Linked DNA regions of Homo sapiens: region 2 is linked to region 1. The links are contacts of gene promoters, found by promoter capture Hi-C in blood cells and fetal thymus (Javierre and others, 2016). All regions are on one chromosome and are shown on one strand. The core of a region is centred on a gene start or on the middle of the fragment in contact, and the rest is flanking DNA. Distances in the headings are between cores, read along the strand shown.

Region 1 (7,609 bases), core at 2,744-5,243:
GTAATAATAATTCTAGGCCTTTACCTTAAGGAAATAATCTGAAAAATAAATAAATATCTAAGTACAAAGTTGTTCATCACAGCAAAAAAAAAAAATTAGAAATAATAGCTGTGCAACACAGGAAACCTGCTAATACAGCACAATTCATCCAAACACAACTTGAACATTGAAATGGTTATGTGACACTATAATTATCAAATATATATATATATATAGAGAGAGAGAGAGAGAGAGAGAGATCCATAAAGCATTTGTAAGTATAATGGAAAGTCTAATTTTTTTTAAAGTAGAGATAGAATCACTCCATTTTTGTTAAAAAATACATATTGGCCAGGTGTGGATGCTCACGCTTATAATTCCAGCACTCTGGGAGGCCAAGGCAGGTGGATCTCTTGGGTCCAGGAGTTTCAGACCAGCCTGGGCAACATGGTGAAACCCTCTCTCTACATAAAATACTGGAAAATTAGCCAGGCATGGTGGCATGCGCCCGTGGTCCCAGCTACTCAGGAGGCTGATGTGGGAGGATCACCTGTGCCTGGGAGGTTGAGGGTGCGGTGAGCTATGATCACACCATTGCACTCCAACCCAGACAGAGACCCTTTCTCCAAAAAAAACTAACATGAAAAAGATACATATTTCTAAGTATATGTATATTTTTTAAGAATAGAATTTTTAAATCAATGGAATAATCTTGTTTTGCCATGATGCAAACAAACGGATGATATCCAAAAACAATATTCATGTTGTTTTTCAACATGTAGCGGGGAAAAGGGAAATTATGAGGCAACAATATGTTCAGTGATGTGCTGGTAAGTATTTAACAAATGGCCTTCAGGCGGGGCAGGGTGGAAGTCCCGTTGTAGTATCCACAGATTTCTGTGGCATAAATAGCACCAACATTATTTATTTCAAGCTACCAATGTGATGTCACTGAATTAGGAGTTCGGAAGAAATACAATTGCACCATGCTGTGTAATACCACTACCTAGTATTTCCATGATACAGATAAATTAGGTGCAAATAATCTCAAAAGCACAGATAAGTATGAAGATAGAGCAAAATAGTTAGAAAGTGGTGAATTTTAGGTTTTTTTTTTTTTTTTTTTGAGACGGAGTCTCACTCTATCCCCCAGGCTGGAGTGCACTGATATGATCTCAGCTCACTGCAGCCTCAACCTCCTGGACCAAAGCGAGCTTCCCACCTGAGCCTCTCAAGTAGCTGGGACTACAGGTGGATACCACCACATCCAGATAATTTTTTTGTATTTTTATAGACAGGGTTTCACTATGTTGCCCAGGCTGGTCTGGAACTCCTGGGCTCAAGCAATCTGCACGCCTCAGCCTCCCAAAGTGCCGGGATTACAGGCTTGAGCCATGGCGCGCAGCCTGCATTTTTTATTGACATGTCTGGTGGTAAACTCATGAAGCATATTTACTTCATTCTTTAGATCCTTATTTGCCATTTCAATATTTTTACAATAAACATATGTTACCTTTATAATCAGAAAAGAATTCAAAGGTTTTTTTATTTTTTGTCTTATTTGTTAAGGCCTAGAGAAAAATATCAGGGAACGTTACTTTTTAAAAGTCTCACTGGAACAAAACACTTCCCCAAAAGATTGATTGTGTTAAGGTGTAACTAAAGAGCAATGTTAGAATCAATTAAGCCATGATACCTTCGTTCAGCCATGGTATAAGGAAATGGTTCTAAATTCCTTCAAAATAGAAATACAAAACGTCAGGACTCAAAGAGATTTGTGCTCCCAGACATTCTCATACTCTCACTTTACAAATAAGGAAGCTAAAAAAGGTAGGTGTTTTCCCAACGTATGCACAAGGTAAGTAGAAGATAACCCAGCTCCTCTCCATTTATAAGTGGTCTCTACGGCCTATGAATAAAAGTACATATTCCTGGCCAGGTGCGGTGGCTCATGCCCATAATCCCAGCACTTTGGGAGGCTGAGGCAGGTGGATCACAAGGTCAAGAGATTAAGACCATCCTGGCCAACACGGTGAAACACCATCTCTTCTAAAAATACAAAAAATTAGCCAGGCATGGTGGCATGCAGCTGTAGTCCCAGGTACTCGGGAGGCTGAAGCAGGAGAAACACTTGAACCCAGGAGGCAGAGGTTGCAGTGAGCCGAGATCACGCCACTGCACTCCAGCCTGGCAACAGAGCAAGACTCCGTGTAACAAAAAGAAAAAAAAAAAGTACATATTCCTTTTGGTATAACTGAATGGCAAGAGATGACCTCATTTTTGTGGGATAGTATTTACTCAATTGGTTAATTGCTAAGCCCTTGGCTTTTCCTACCTTTATTTAGATGATAGCAGCTCACACCTCGCCAGAACTGTTTACTTCTCAAAACATGTTTATATGGATTATCTCCACTGATCTTCATGAGAACTCTGTGAGTCTGGTGGGGGTAAGAAGGACCAGTCCTATTTTACAGGTATAAAAACTGAGGCTAGAGCAGGCAAGCGGCTGGCCCAAGGCCGGTGAGAGCCAGGCCTCCCGTCCCGTCCCAGTGCTCTCCCAGAGTTTCCTCCTCGAAGCCTTTCTGAGGCAGTCATTTAGGTGAACCTTCGCTGAAGGCCACTTTCTCACCTTTCCTTCCTTCTCCCTCCAAAAGCTTCTTTCTACCTTTGGGTCCTGTCTCATTTCGCAGTTAAAGATATTATTTTCAGGTCACCTAGGGTTGCTCTTTAGTTCCTGTTTGCTTTTGGTTTGTTACTTGTTTATTTATTTATTTTTATCTATTTACTTATTTTTGAGACAGAGTCTTGCTCTGTTGCCAGGCTGGAGTGCCATGGCGCGATCTTGGCTCACTGCAACCTCTGCCTCCCAGGTTCACGCCATACTCCTGCCTCAGCCTCCCAAGTAGCTGGGACTACAGGTGCACGCCACCCTGCCTAGCTAATTTTTGTGTTTTTAGTAGAGATGGGGTTTCACCATGTTGGCCAGGATGGTCTCAATCTCTTGACTTGGTGATCCGCCCGCCTCGGCCTCCCAAAGTGCTGGGATTACAGGCACGAGCCACCATGCCCAGCCTGTTTTTGGTTTTTTAACTCCAAAATGGAAGATAATCCCAGGCATCTTTAGGCCTCAGAATATTCTTCTTTATTTGACATGAGGTCTAAACCCTAGCATGTTGTTTTCTCTTGAAATTTGAAGTAATTTCTACCACAAGAGAAATTACGTTTGCAAAGGTTCAAGTAAAGTATATTATAAAGCATGAAACTAAACACTTTGGTGTGACACATTTCTGGACTTGGAAGTCAGAGAAGACAGACTTATTTAAGCTACTCGAATTATCTAGAAGAAAAAAGAAACTCAAATTATCTATAACAGAACAGATGCTGGGGAATCTAAGAAGACTGGATGTTGATGTTCTCCTTAGCTTTGTTTTATGAAGGAAGGGAATGTGTTCTGTTAAGAGTGGAATGTTCTCCGGAAGAACTGGAAAAGGTATCAGTGGGCTATGTTCAGGTCCAGAGACAAAAGAGCTGTCAACTTAAACTAACCTGTGCGGTGCCTCAGCTCCTGGACTTACTGGTTGATGCAACCTTAGGGAAAGCCTGTGTGCATCAATTTCCTCATCTTTAAAGTTAGAATCACAGCATCTACCTCATAGGGTTGTGAGGAAAACTAAATTAGCTAGTGGCCAAGAAAATGCTGTGTATACTAAAAATCACTACAAAATATGTAGACTATATATATAGCTTGATAATTTTTAAAGTTTACTGCTCTGGGCAAGGGATGGAGGAGTGAGTTAAAAAGGAACACAGTGTCAGACACAGCAACAGGCAGGTGGCCAGGTTTCTGTAGGCAGAAGAGGATGGAGAGCTCAGGAGTGCATACTAATTGCTGCACCTCTGCTGAGACTACTGGCCAAATGGCTGCCTACCAGAAAACACAGTGTCCCTTTCCATATTAAAGGGCCTCTCCTAACTGGGCTTTCAGCTGCATACAAAACTACGTGGAGTTCTCCATGCATCTGATGGTGCCATTATGAAGATGAACTGTTAACTAAATTGCTTTGGTGGAATATGTATGCTAGGGAAGAGGTAACAGTTTCCCTACAACCATGAATGTCTTCTGGAAAATAAATGATTCTTATTGAGACTTGAAAGACAAATTGTCTGAGAGCAGAAAGGGGTTTACTGGAAAAGAGTGAGTGTATTTCTAAATGAGAGAGAAAAAAAATGTTTCAGAGGAAGGAGCCCCTGCCTTCTGGTGAAGAGTATTCAAGATGAAGATAAACTTTTCAACTTAATATCGAGAGTAATGAGATATTCACTTCCTAAAGAAAACTCTTTAAAGAAACAAAGATGATATCCAATGTGGGCTAGCAAGCCATTTCTGGTGACATTTGTGGAGGGGCTGAAGGCAATTCATTTGGCAGTCAAATCTGAATGAAGTAAAGGATATGGTTAAGAAAGGCACCTGAATTAATGTACATTTTACTTCTTTATAATTTTTTCAGCTTTGATAGCAGAAGGGATCTACTCTTGAAAGTCCAAAAAATGTTGTTGCTATAGGAACAGGTAAGCAGATTAGACTTGAAAGACCAGTTTAGGAACAAAGAATGTAATAGTCAGGGCTAAAGCAATTAACCAAGAAAACATTTTAAGTAAATATCTTTCAGGTTTGTTATTTACATATTAATTCCAGGAAGATTAAATGCTATTATGGAATGAGAGCGTCACATTTTAACATTTTAATTACATCATTACTGGCATAAAAGACTATGCTTACACAATTAGCAGAAAGATCTTATTAAACAGAAGTACATATTTCTAACTCTCTCTTGATTATATTGTAATTGAGAAATACAGTTTTAAATTCATCCTGAGCATGAAAGTCATCTTTGATTTTCCTATAGTTCTCAAGATAGAAGCACATCTAAAATCAAAGAGATACTGAACTACCGAAAGTTTTCTGTAACCAATCTCTATAATGAGGAAGCCACAAAAGTAAAATTCTAGAAGAAAACAGAAATGTGTGTAGGCTGATAATTGTTAATATTGCATGTCTTCCCTGTCCAACAGACTCGGTGAACAAGACATTTGAGAAGAGAAGGTCAAAGACCCAGCTGCACTTCTGCTTCACTGCTGAACTTCTGCTTCTTCCTATCAGGGAATACACTGCTCCTCACATTAGGGATTTCCTAAAATTGTTAGGTGTTTTGAACAGAACTGGCTATACCAATGAGGCTCAAACAAGAATCATAAAGTGCATGGTGCTTCTCTCCCTCTCTGTTTTCTTTAAAAAGAAAACATTCTTGACAAGATGAATACAATATTTTCATTCTAGCAAATTTCTGCTGTCAGAGGTTATATTTACAGGATAGAGAGATTTCTCAAACATGACCTTTTCTCGTGTAATACCAGAGTGAAATTTTAGAAAAGTCTGTGTGTGTGTGATGCGTGCGTGTGTGTGTGTGTGTGTGTGTGTGTGTGTGTGTCTCGCAGGCTGAGAAGTGGGATGGGAAGAAGGGAATGTGGCTAGAATCTTACCATCTCATTCTCTTCTCCTTCATTGAGCAGAGCGTGCTGGCCCTTCTCAAAGTGTCCCATGAAAAAGTTATTCCACACCTCCTCCCTGACCTTGTCGTGCAGACGCTTCCAGGATGAACTCCAACTCGCCGAGCCACCGCAGCTCCTCAGCTGACTAAAAGAGTTAATGATCCTCCAGGTTAAAACTCCTCCTTGAGCACACACCTTCTCTCAACAAATGACAATACTTGGCAAACTGAACTCCTCCCACGAGTCGCCCTCTGCTAGGAGGAATTGCTGGCTGCTCCCTGCTTATTGCATTCTCTCAGAGCAGCTGTCTCAAAGGAGGCTGCTCCCATGCCGATCTTTTTGTGCCCAACTTACAGGGAAAGAACTCATTGCCTGCCCAGTGCCTGCCAGCCTCAGACTTCTGACTGCAAATCCAACAGGACAATACAGAGTTGGCAGGACCCTTCTCAGGAGTGAGGAGCGGGTGCAAGAACTCCCAGGTCACTGCTTTATTCAGAGGACCTAAGGAATTGGGTTGAGCGGAAGCGCACAGAGCTGCAGATTTTCTTTGATGAATGAAAGCTTCAATCCACAGGTTTCTAATAGTACTCTCATTCATTTTGCTTACAAAAGGTACAGATTATCACTAATCCTCTTCAAAAGGTATTTGTAATCACATTTCCTTGTATATGCAAAAAAAATTCTATTTAAAGTGTATGTGAAATTAAGTTTACTTTTTTGAAACACATGTAGAAAAAGAACAAAGGTATCATCAAACTAGTCTATGTAGTCTCCTTTCACTAAAATATTGATGGTTCAACACTTAAGGAAGTCTAGAAATAAAATATTCAAATGACTATATGGCCAGACTCTTTTTTAATTTGTTTACACATTTATTCAATAAACAGTGCCTGAGCACAGGGACTACCTAAAAAAGTTAAGTCATATTTGCTACCCTCGTGTTGATGTAAGGATTCAAACATCCAAACAAATATGATAGAAAGTGGATTGTTATTATAAGAGATGGAACAGAAGTCTAAGAAAACTGTCAGAAGTCCCAATGTGGTGTAGAGAAACACACCCCTACCCTAGCTCTGGCAAAATACCTGTATTCCAGCTGCTTGTCTGCACTGGCCTTGCTGTGTGATCATTTAACTATAGGAACCGGCTCTTCTCATCTGGTACCGCCCGACAGGACTTTTGAGAGAATGGAATGAGATCATTGTGAAAGTACATTGTACAGCACTGATCAAGTGCTGTTAGGATTATTAAACTAAATGTGCATTTGAACAGTAGGTGTTAGGACATAGTGGCTAAGGGCATATACACTAAATTTGGAAGGCCTGAGTTCAAATTTGGACTGTACTAGGTGGTCGTTGTGCTACCTTGGGATATAACAAGTTATACAAACTCCATTCTCCTCTATTTCCTCACATGTAACATAAAGATGATGATAATAGAACCTACGTCCTAAAACAGACTTTTAAGAAAGAGTGCCTGGGAAATAATAGGTGTTCCACAAAAGATAGTTATTTTTACCTTCACCATGTCCACTGTCTGTCCCTCAAGCTACATTGGCAATGATATCTCCAACCTGACCCAAATAACCCTAATGTGACCAAGATCAATGTGTGCATGTGTGTGTGTGTATATGTTGTATGTGTAAAACCTTGAGCAAATAGTGAAGTATAGGATAAACATAAAAAGTAAGCTAAGTAAACCCATTGTAATAGTAATTACAAAATATATATGTACGTGTGTGTGTATGTGTGTGTGTGTGTGTATATATATATGTAGTTCTCTTGGTTTCAAAAATTTGCTAGCACAATTTAACCAAATAAATGAAAATAAAATTAACATTTTATCACAAGGTCAAAATATAAGGAGTAAAGGGTTTATGGGGGGGGTAATAAAAATGTTCTAGAACTACTGATGGCTTCAAAAATTTGTGAACATACTAAACCTCACTGAACTCTATACTTTAAAAGGGTGAATTTTATGAAATGTGAATTATATCTCAATGAAGAGATATAACAAATTTAAAAATCATACCTCAATAAAAAATTATACCTCAAAAAAACCTAACTGAACATTTAACAGC
Region 2 (7,609 bases), core at 2,148-4,647, 510 kb before region 1:
AAGGTAGGAATCCCACCTCCATTCTCACATTTATTCTTCTCTGTGCAGGACCAATAATTTTTAGAAAGATGTTTCTAAATTTCCTTCCTTCCCCATCCTTAGCTGTGCACCAAATTGTCAAATTCCTGCCAAGAGAAAGCATTCCTGTTAGAGTCCCCTGTTGGATTGACAGTATTTGCAATCAGAATATTGATCTCCAAGAAGGCTTTTCTGGTCCTGTGCCTATACAATATTGGCTGCAGGATAATACTCATGTACATATTCTAGTGGAATTCTAGCTTTGTTATGAGATTTCTCTTCACTTTTTTTTTTTTTAGATGGAGTTTTGCTCTTATTGCCCAGGCTGGAGTGCAATGGCATGGTCTCAGCTCACTGCAACTTCCGCCTCCGGGATTCAAGTGATTCTCCTGCCTCAGCCTCCCAGGTAGCTGGAATTACAGGCTCCCGCCACCATGCCCGGCTAATTTTTGTGTTTTTAGTAGAGACGGGGTTTCACCATGTTGGCCAGACTGGTCTCGAACTCCTGACCTCAGGTGACCCACCCACTTTGGCCTCCCAAAGTGCTGGGATTACAGGCGTGAGGCACCACGCCTGGCCTTCTCTCTCATTTTTATTTTGAAGTAATTTTTAACCCAGAAAAGTTGCAGAAATAGTATGAAGAATTCCCATAATTTATTCCCATTAATTTATACTATGGTCTTTTTGGAGGGCATTTTGCATCTAAAAAATGATTTACCAACATACAAGGATATTAAAAGCATTATTCATGATAGCAAAAATTGGGAATGACCTAAATATTTCAAAAAAGAGGATTAGCTACATAATTATATCAAAATGATGAATTTTCAGTCATTAAAAATAAAATTATTTAAAAATATTTACAGGGAAATGCTCAATATATTATTTTCCTGGTGCTGCCATAACAAAATACCATAGACCTTGTAACATAAACAACAGAAATTGATTTATCACAGTTCTGGAGAACAAAAGTCCAAGATCAGGGTGCCAGCAGGGTTGCTGTCTCCTGAGGCCTCTGTCCTTGGCTTGCAGCTGGCCTCCTTCTTGCTGTGTTTTCACATGGTCCTTTCTCTGTGTTTGTACATTCTTGGTGTCTCTCCCTTTTCTTTTTTCTTTTTTTTTTTAAGATGGAGTCTCACTCTGTCACCCAGGTTGGAGTGCAGTGGCATGATCTCGGCTCACTGCATCCTCTGTCTCCTGGGTTCAAACGATTCTCCTGCCTCAGCCTCCTGAGTAGCTGGGACTACAGGTGCGCACCACCATGCCCAGCTAATTTTTGTATTTTTAGTAGAGACGTGGTTTCACCATGTTGATCAGGCTGGTCTCGAACTCCTGACCTCGTGATCTACACACCTCAGCCTCCTAAAGTGCTGGGATTACAGGCGTGAGCCACTGCGCCCTTTCTCTCCCTTTTCTTATAAGGACACCAGTCATGTTGGAACAGGGCTTCACCCTTACCACCTCATTGAACTGCAATTACCTCTTTAAAGGCCCTTTCTCCAAATGCAGTCATATTAGGAGTGAGGACTTCCGCATAGGAATTTGGAGGAAACACAATTCAGTCTATAACACTCAAGACACTTAAGTGAAAAAATGTATGTCATAAGCCATGTTTATAATGTGACTTTGATTTTTCAAACACATACACATGTATACAGAAGACAAATAGTGTGGAAGTTTACATGTCAAAATTTTAACAGTTGATATTTCTAAATTGTGAGATTATGAGTCACATTAATTTACTTTCTACTGTATTGCATTTTCCAATTTTCCATAATAAACTACCATTACTCCTTTAGTTAGAAAAGAATAGATTATAAGTAGCACAAAATACTTTTTAAAAAGCTTAAAGTTTTTTCAAATATATTAACATATTTGATCTCTGTAACAATGCTATGAGGCAAGAATGGGAACAATGTTTTTGAATTCATACATAACAAAATTGAGGCTCAGAAGAGTTAAGTCATGTGGCCAAGTAGCCTAATAATCAGAATAGGTCTTCTGAGTATTAATCCAATCTCTCCATTATACCACAATTCTTTAAAATACCTTCCTTCAGCCTGGGTGTGGTAGCTCACACCTGTAATCCCAGCACTTTGGGAGGCCAAGGTTGGATAATCACTTGAGTGCAGAAGTTTGAGACCAACCTGGGTAACATGGCAAAACGCTGTCTGTACAAAAAATAAAAAAAATTAGCCAGGCATGGTGGTGTAAACCTGTAGTCCCAGTTACTTAGGAGGCTAAAGTGGGAGGATCACTTGAGCCTGGGTGGTTGAGGCTGCAGTAAGCCATGATCTTACCACTGCACTCCAGCCTGGGCAACAGAGTGAGACCCTGTCTCAAAAATAAATAAAACAATAAATATTAAAATATCTTCCTTTAATAAACAAAGAAAAATCTAACAATGCTCTTTATTCCCAACAATTTATTAATGACACATATGAAAGTAGAAGAAATAATAACAATAACAGCAGTAATATGTTTCATGGAGATCGTTTAAGCTTAGTCTTAAATTGAAATATTTGGGATAAAATATATATAAATATATAGTGACTTGGAGATCATTTAAGCTTAGTCTTAAATTGAAAGATTTGGGATAAAAATATATATAAATATACAGTGACTGGGTATATACCCAAAGGAATGTAGGTCATGCCATCATAAAGACACATGCACATGTATGTTCTTGCAGCACTATTCACTACAGCAAACACATGGAATCAACCTAAATGTCCATGAGTGGTAGACTGGATAAAGAAAATGCAGTACGTATACACCATGGAATACTATGCAGCCATACAACGGAGGCCATTATCCTTAGCAAACTAATGCAGGAACAGAAAATTAAATATTTCACATTCTCACTTATAAGCAGGAGCTAAATGATGAGAACACATGGACACATAGAGAGGAACAGCAGGCACAGGGGCCTACCTGAGGGTGGAGGGTAGGAGGAAGGAGAGGATCAGGAAAAATAACTAATGAGTATTAGGCTTAACACCTGGGTGACAAAATAATCTGTACAACAAATCCCTGTGACATAAGTTTACATAAATAACAAACCTGCACATGTACTCCTGAACTTAAAAGTTAAAAAAAGAAATGTAAGTTTCATACAAAAAAAATGAATAAGTAGCAACCTGGGATGAAAATTGTCACTGAGTTTTTTACTCCACAGCACGTTCTTATTGTTGTCCATCTATGAAGATGAAGCATGGAGACTCCTTTACGAGACTCTACTGGGTATTTCAATAGGTATTCCTACCTGTGAGAATGCATGCATGGACCACTCCTCTAGGCAGAGGCTCCTCATCTGGAGGAGTGAAAGGAGAATTAGGGAGACAAGAAATTATTACAAGAGTTCCAGAGATCTTGAAGTATAAATATTTTTTCATTCCAGGCATGTAAAAAATATGGCCACAGTTATGTATGTGTGTGTTGTGGGATGTGGCATGGTTCTGCATATATGAGGTGTTCTTTTGTTGAAGAAGTTGGGGATTATTGCTATAGATCAATAATATTAAAAATCCCATTTATAATATATTATTTTCCACTCTCCCTTCCTGTAATAAAACCAACCATCCCAACAATCACAATATAAATGGATGTTTTCTGAGACGAATTCAGTTTTCTAGTTGTGAGTGAGTTGAACTCAACCAGCTTCTACCTGCAAGATATGTTGCAACTGCTTTGGACCTCACTCTGGGGAAGCGAAGATGGGGTAGAATAAAGAACTCTCTAGAAAAGTAGCCAGAGAGACTGTTCTTCAAGAAGCAACATCTGTTCAGCACCTATCACAGACCCTGGATTATATGTGGTGAAACTGTTTTTTGCCTGTGGTTTGTGGATGGAGCTTTGGGGCCAGTCATCAATATCTATTTCAGCGGTCAGAGCCTCTTTGCTCTGTGCTAACTAAACTTCATCCAGGTTTTTGTGGTACTCTTGTGATTTGTGAAATGACAGACACCTGGACTAAAAGGAATGACAAAATATATTTCAAGACTTTCAAAAGGGTTCCATAGTTTGATGCCAATTGTCTTGAGGCAAGCGGCTGGGCATTCCCTTCCAAGGAGGATCGTGAACAGCTGTCAGGCCTAATCTGGGTGAGAGATGAAAGGGGTGACCTGCGGGTTAAAGTCTCCACTGCCTGCTGCAAATCCCCCGAGTTATCTAATCTGTCCAGCGGCACAAGCTTTCTGCAAAGAAAGCATTATTTTACAGCTGACTCTTTAACAAAGGGGAAATAACAACTGTTAGAAAATGTAGTAAGTAGTTGTCCTAAGATAATGCTGCTTGAATAAATTCTATAGAGTTTTTTTAATTAAAAAATCTTCAAAAGGACAGATAAATATCAGAAAGCCCACATGGACTGTGTACACGAGGCATTGCATTGCATTATGGAATATTGTCTAGGTTCTTTTTGTGTGGGTGTGTGTGTGACAGAGTCTCACTTTGTTGCCCAGGCTGGAGTGCAGTGGCACAATCTTGGCTCACCGCAACCTCCACCTCCCAGGTTCAAGTGATTCTCCTGCCTCAGCCTCCTGAGTAGTTGGGATTACAGGCGTCCACCACCATGCCCAGCTAATTTTTGTATTTTTAGTAGAGACAGGGTTTCACCATGTTGGCCAGGCTGGTCTCAAACTCTTGACCTCAAGTGATCCACCTGCCTCGGCCTCCCAAAGCGCTGGGATTACAGGCGTGAGCCACTGCACCTGGCTGTCCAGGTTCTTACACACACACACACACACACAGACACACACACACACACAGAGAGAGTGAGAGAGAGAAAGAGAGAGAGAGAGAACACCATCAGCCTAAAGTCCTGTACATGGGCTAATTGCCTCTAACCCAAAGTCTGCTTGGGATGATTGGTGTGATGGTTAATATTGAATGTCAACTTGATTGGACTGAAGGATGCAAAATATTGTTCCTGGGTGTATCTGTGCGGGTGTTGACACATTTGAATCAGTGGACTGGGAGAGGCAGACCCACCCTCAATCTGGGTGGGCACCATCTAATCAGCTGCCAGTGTGGCTAGAATAAAGCAGGCAGAAAATTTGGAAGGACTAGACTTGCTGAGTCTTCCAGCCTTCATCTTTCTCCCATGCTGGATGCTTCCTTCCTTGAACATCAGACTCCAGGTTCTTCAGCTTTTGGACTCTTGGACTTAACACCAGTGATTTTCCAGAGGCTCTCAGGCCTTTGGCCACAGACCGAAGGCTACACTTTTGGCTTCCCTACTTTTGAGGTTTTGGGACTTGGACTGGCTTCCTTGCTCCTCAGCTTGCAGATGGCCTATTGTGGAACTTCACTTTGTGATTGTGTGAGTCAGTACTCCTTAATAAACTCCCCTTTATATATACATTTATCTTATTAATTCTGTCCCTCTGGAGAACCCTGACTAATACAATTGGTGTCTCTGCAATATTTGTGCAAATTTGAGTAAGTCTTTCTCTGGGCTGCAGTATTGTCATTTGTAAAACAAAACAAAACAAATAGCCAGAAAGAAAAGAGAGGATTTGGATTAGATGGCACATCCTTGGCATACCATCATTCTTCATTCTTGCTCCCATAACCATCATAATTAATTGATTATGGCACTTTCCACCAACCTCATGCAGCCTCAGAATTCCCAACAGCAATTGTTCTGAATTAGCATGTGAGAGGAAATACATTTGCTCTGCTTACAATTGAGTGATGCCTGTGGTCCTCTTCATCAGGAGTCTCAGAAGGCTGAGTGGCATAGCTCATGGTGGTACCTCTGGCACAGCACAGTACAACTAGTATCAATAGGATGGAGTGACAACAGCTACAGCAAGATTTTTTGGGAGAAAATATTGAGTTTCAGAGATGACATGTGTTACTCATAAGAAGAGGCATGCACATCAGATCCAGAACATGAGCAGAAAGAGAAAGCTACTACAATGGAGAGAGAATGTTTATCGGTGTACATCCCCAGTGAACTCCCAAAATTCTGGGGAAATGGGAATTTGAAGAGTCTGCAATAGCAGGAAAGGGTAGAGTTGGTGGATTTTTTTTTTTACTTTGTTAGTTTTTTCCTTCCCCCTTTCTAAATCTAGGCTGATACAGTCTGATAAAAAGATTACATTTATATGACTAGTTGTATAATTACTAACATAAGAATCACAGCAAACAAATTTTTTTTAAACAAAATCTTGGTATGTTGCCCACGTTGGAGTGCAGTGAACATTCTCATTTACAGGTGGGATCATAGCCACGAATTTTTGGGTTCAAGTGATTCTCCTGCCTCAGACTCTTGAGTAGTTGGGACTAGTGGCACATACCACCATGCCTGACTTGCAGAATACATTTCTTAAATAGAATTTTAAGATTTGGAGAAGACCCTAGAGATCATCTAGTCTATCAGTTCCCAAATACTTCAACTTGGACCAGATCCATGCTGGCTTCATAAGATAACTCTAGAGCTTGTTAATAATCTGATTCCTGAATGAAGTTCCCAAAGATTCTGCTTCAGTAGGTTTGGCAGGTTTTTGTTTTTTTTTTTTGAGATGGAGTCTCGTTCTATCATCAGGTTGGAGTGCAGTGGCACGATCTCGGCTCACTGCAACCTCTGCCTCCTGGGTTCAAGTGATTATCCCGCCTTAGCCTCCTGAGTAGCTGGAACTACAGCCGTGCACCAGGGCAACTGGTGCACATCCTCAGGGCAACTGTGACCTCACCACTTCTGAAATATTTTCTGTTCTTGCTGTCTACATATTTTTGTATATAGATACACACTTACTTGTTATTTAGCCATTTCCTTTGTGTTTATTTTGTATCCCCAGTTAGGTTGAAACTTCTAATAGGACAGTATCATATCTTAGCCACACCCAGCTAATTTTTGTATTTTTAGTAGAGATGAGATTTCACCATGTTGGCCAGGATGGTCTCAAACTCCTGACCTCGTGATCTGCCTGCCTTGGCCTCCCAAAGTGCTAGGATTACAGGTGTGAGCCACTGCGCCTGGTCTGGCATAGTTTTAACAAGGTCACTAGGTAATGGCAATGACCATCAAGGTTTGAAAATTAATGATCTAGTCATACTTCATCATTTAAAAAATGTATGCTCAGGCAGAATAACACTTCTTCATTTTTAAGATGAGAAAACCAAAGTAAAATTAGAAAAAATGAGTTGCCCAATATCACACAGCAACTCAGGTACAAATTTGGAAATGGAATCTAGGTTGTCTGACTGCCAGTCCCATGCCAAGGGGCAGGCTAATTCTTCTGGGGTTTCTTGAAACAAATGGCCAGTCATGTCAGTGTGCCCAGTATTTTAATAAAGCCAGTAATGCTGATATGGAACAGGCTCCCTTAGAAGGTAGTGAGATGGTCAAGTGTAGGACAAATGCTACCTAGAAGGACACCTGTAGATAAATGCATCAGATGGGTAGGTAGAATTTACCTTCCAGTTTTATATAAAGCTATTCTCTGCCAACTCATTTGTTAGAAGGCTGTGAGGAATTGAGGCCGTTTTTTTAAACACAAAAGCTTAATTTCTAATTATGAAAGGGAAACTGGGACAAGGACAGATGACCTATGGCAGTGATTTGAGCCTCTGGAAAACTGTC

The links. The method cuts DNA at HindIII sites, captures the fragments that hold promoters and counts their contacts. A CHiCAGO score of 5 or more calls a contact.
Region 2: a contact is called between a fragment that was not itself captured here and the fragment with the promoter of ATP13A4-AS1 in region 1, in 1 of 17 cell types (M2 macrophages). The highest score is 5.7, in M2 macrophages.

Annotation. Positions count from the first base shown.
Region 1 is chr3:193,549,220-193,556,828 of GRCh38, forward strand. It overlaps ATP13A4-AS1 (ATP13A4 antisense RNA 1), which reads left to right and starts at 3,994. Exons shown (of 2, transcript NR_121666.1): 1 at 3,994-4,068; 2 at 5,551-6,365. It overlaps ATP13A4 (ATPase 13A4), which reads right to left and starts at 5,676. Exons shown (of 30, transcript NM_032279.4): 1 at 5,521-5,676. The coding sequence starts at 5,580. The HindIII fragment of the contact is 3,457 bases long and covers 2,632-6,088 here.
Region 2 is chr3:193,042,435-193,050,043 of GRCh38, forward strand. No RefSeq gene overlaps it. Among named protein-coding and RNA genes, the nearest start is that of MB21D2, 130 kb to the left of the region's middle. The HindIII fragment of the contact is 1,622 bases long and covers 2,587-4,208 here.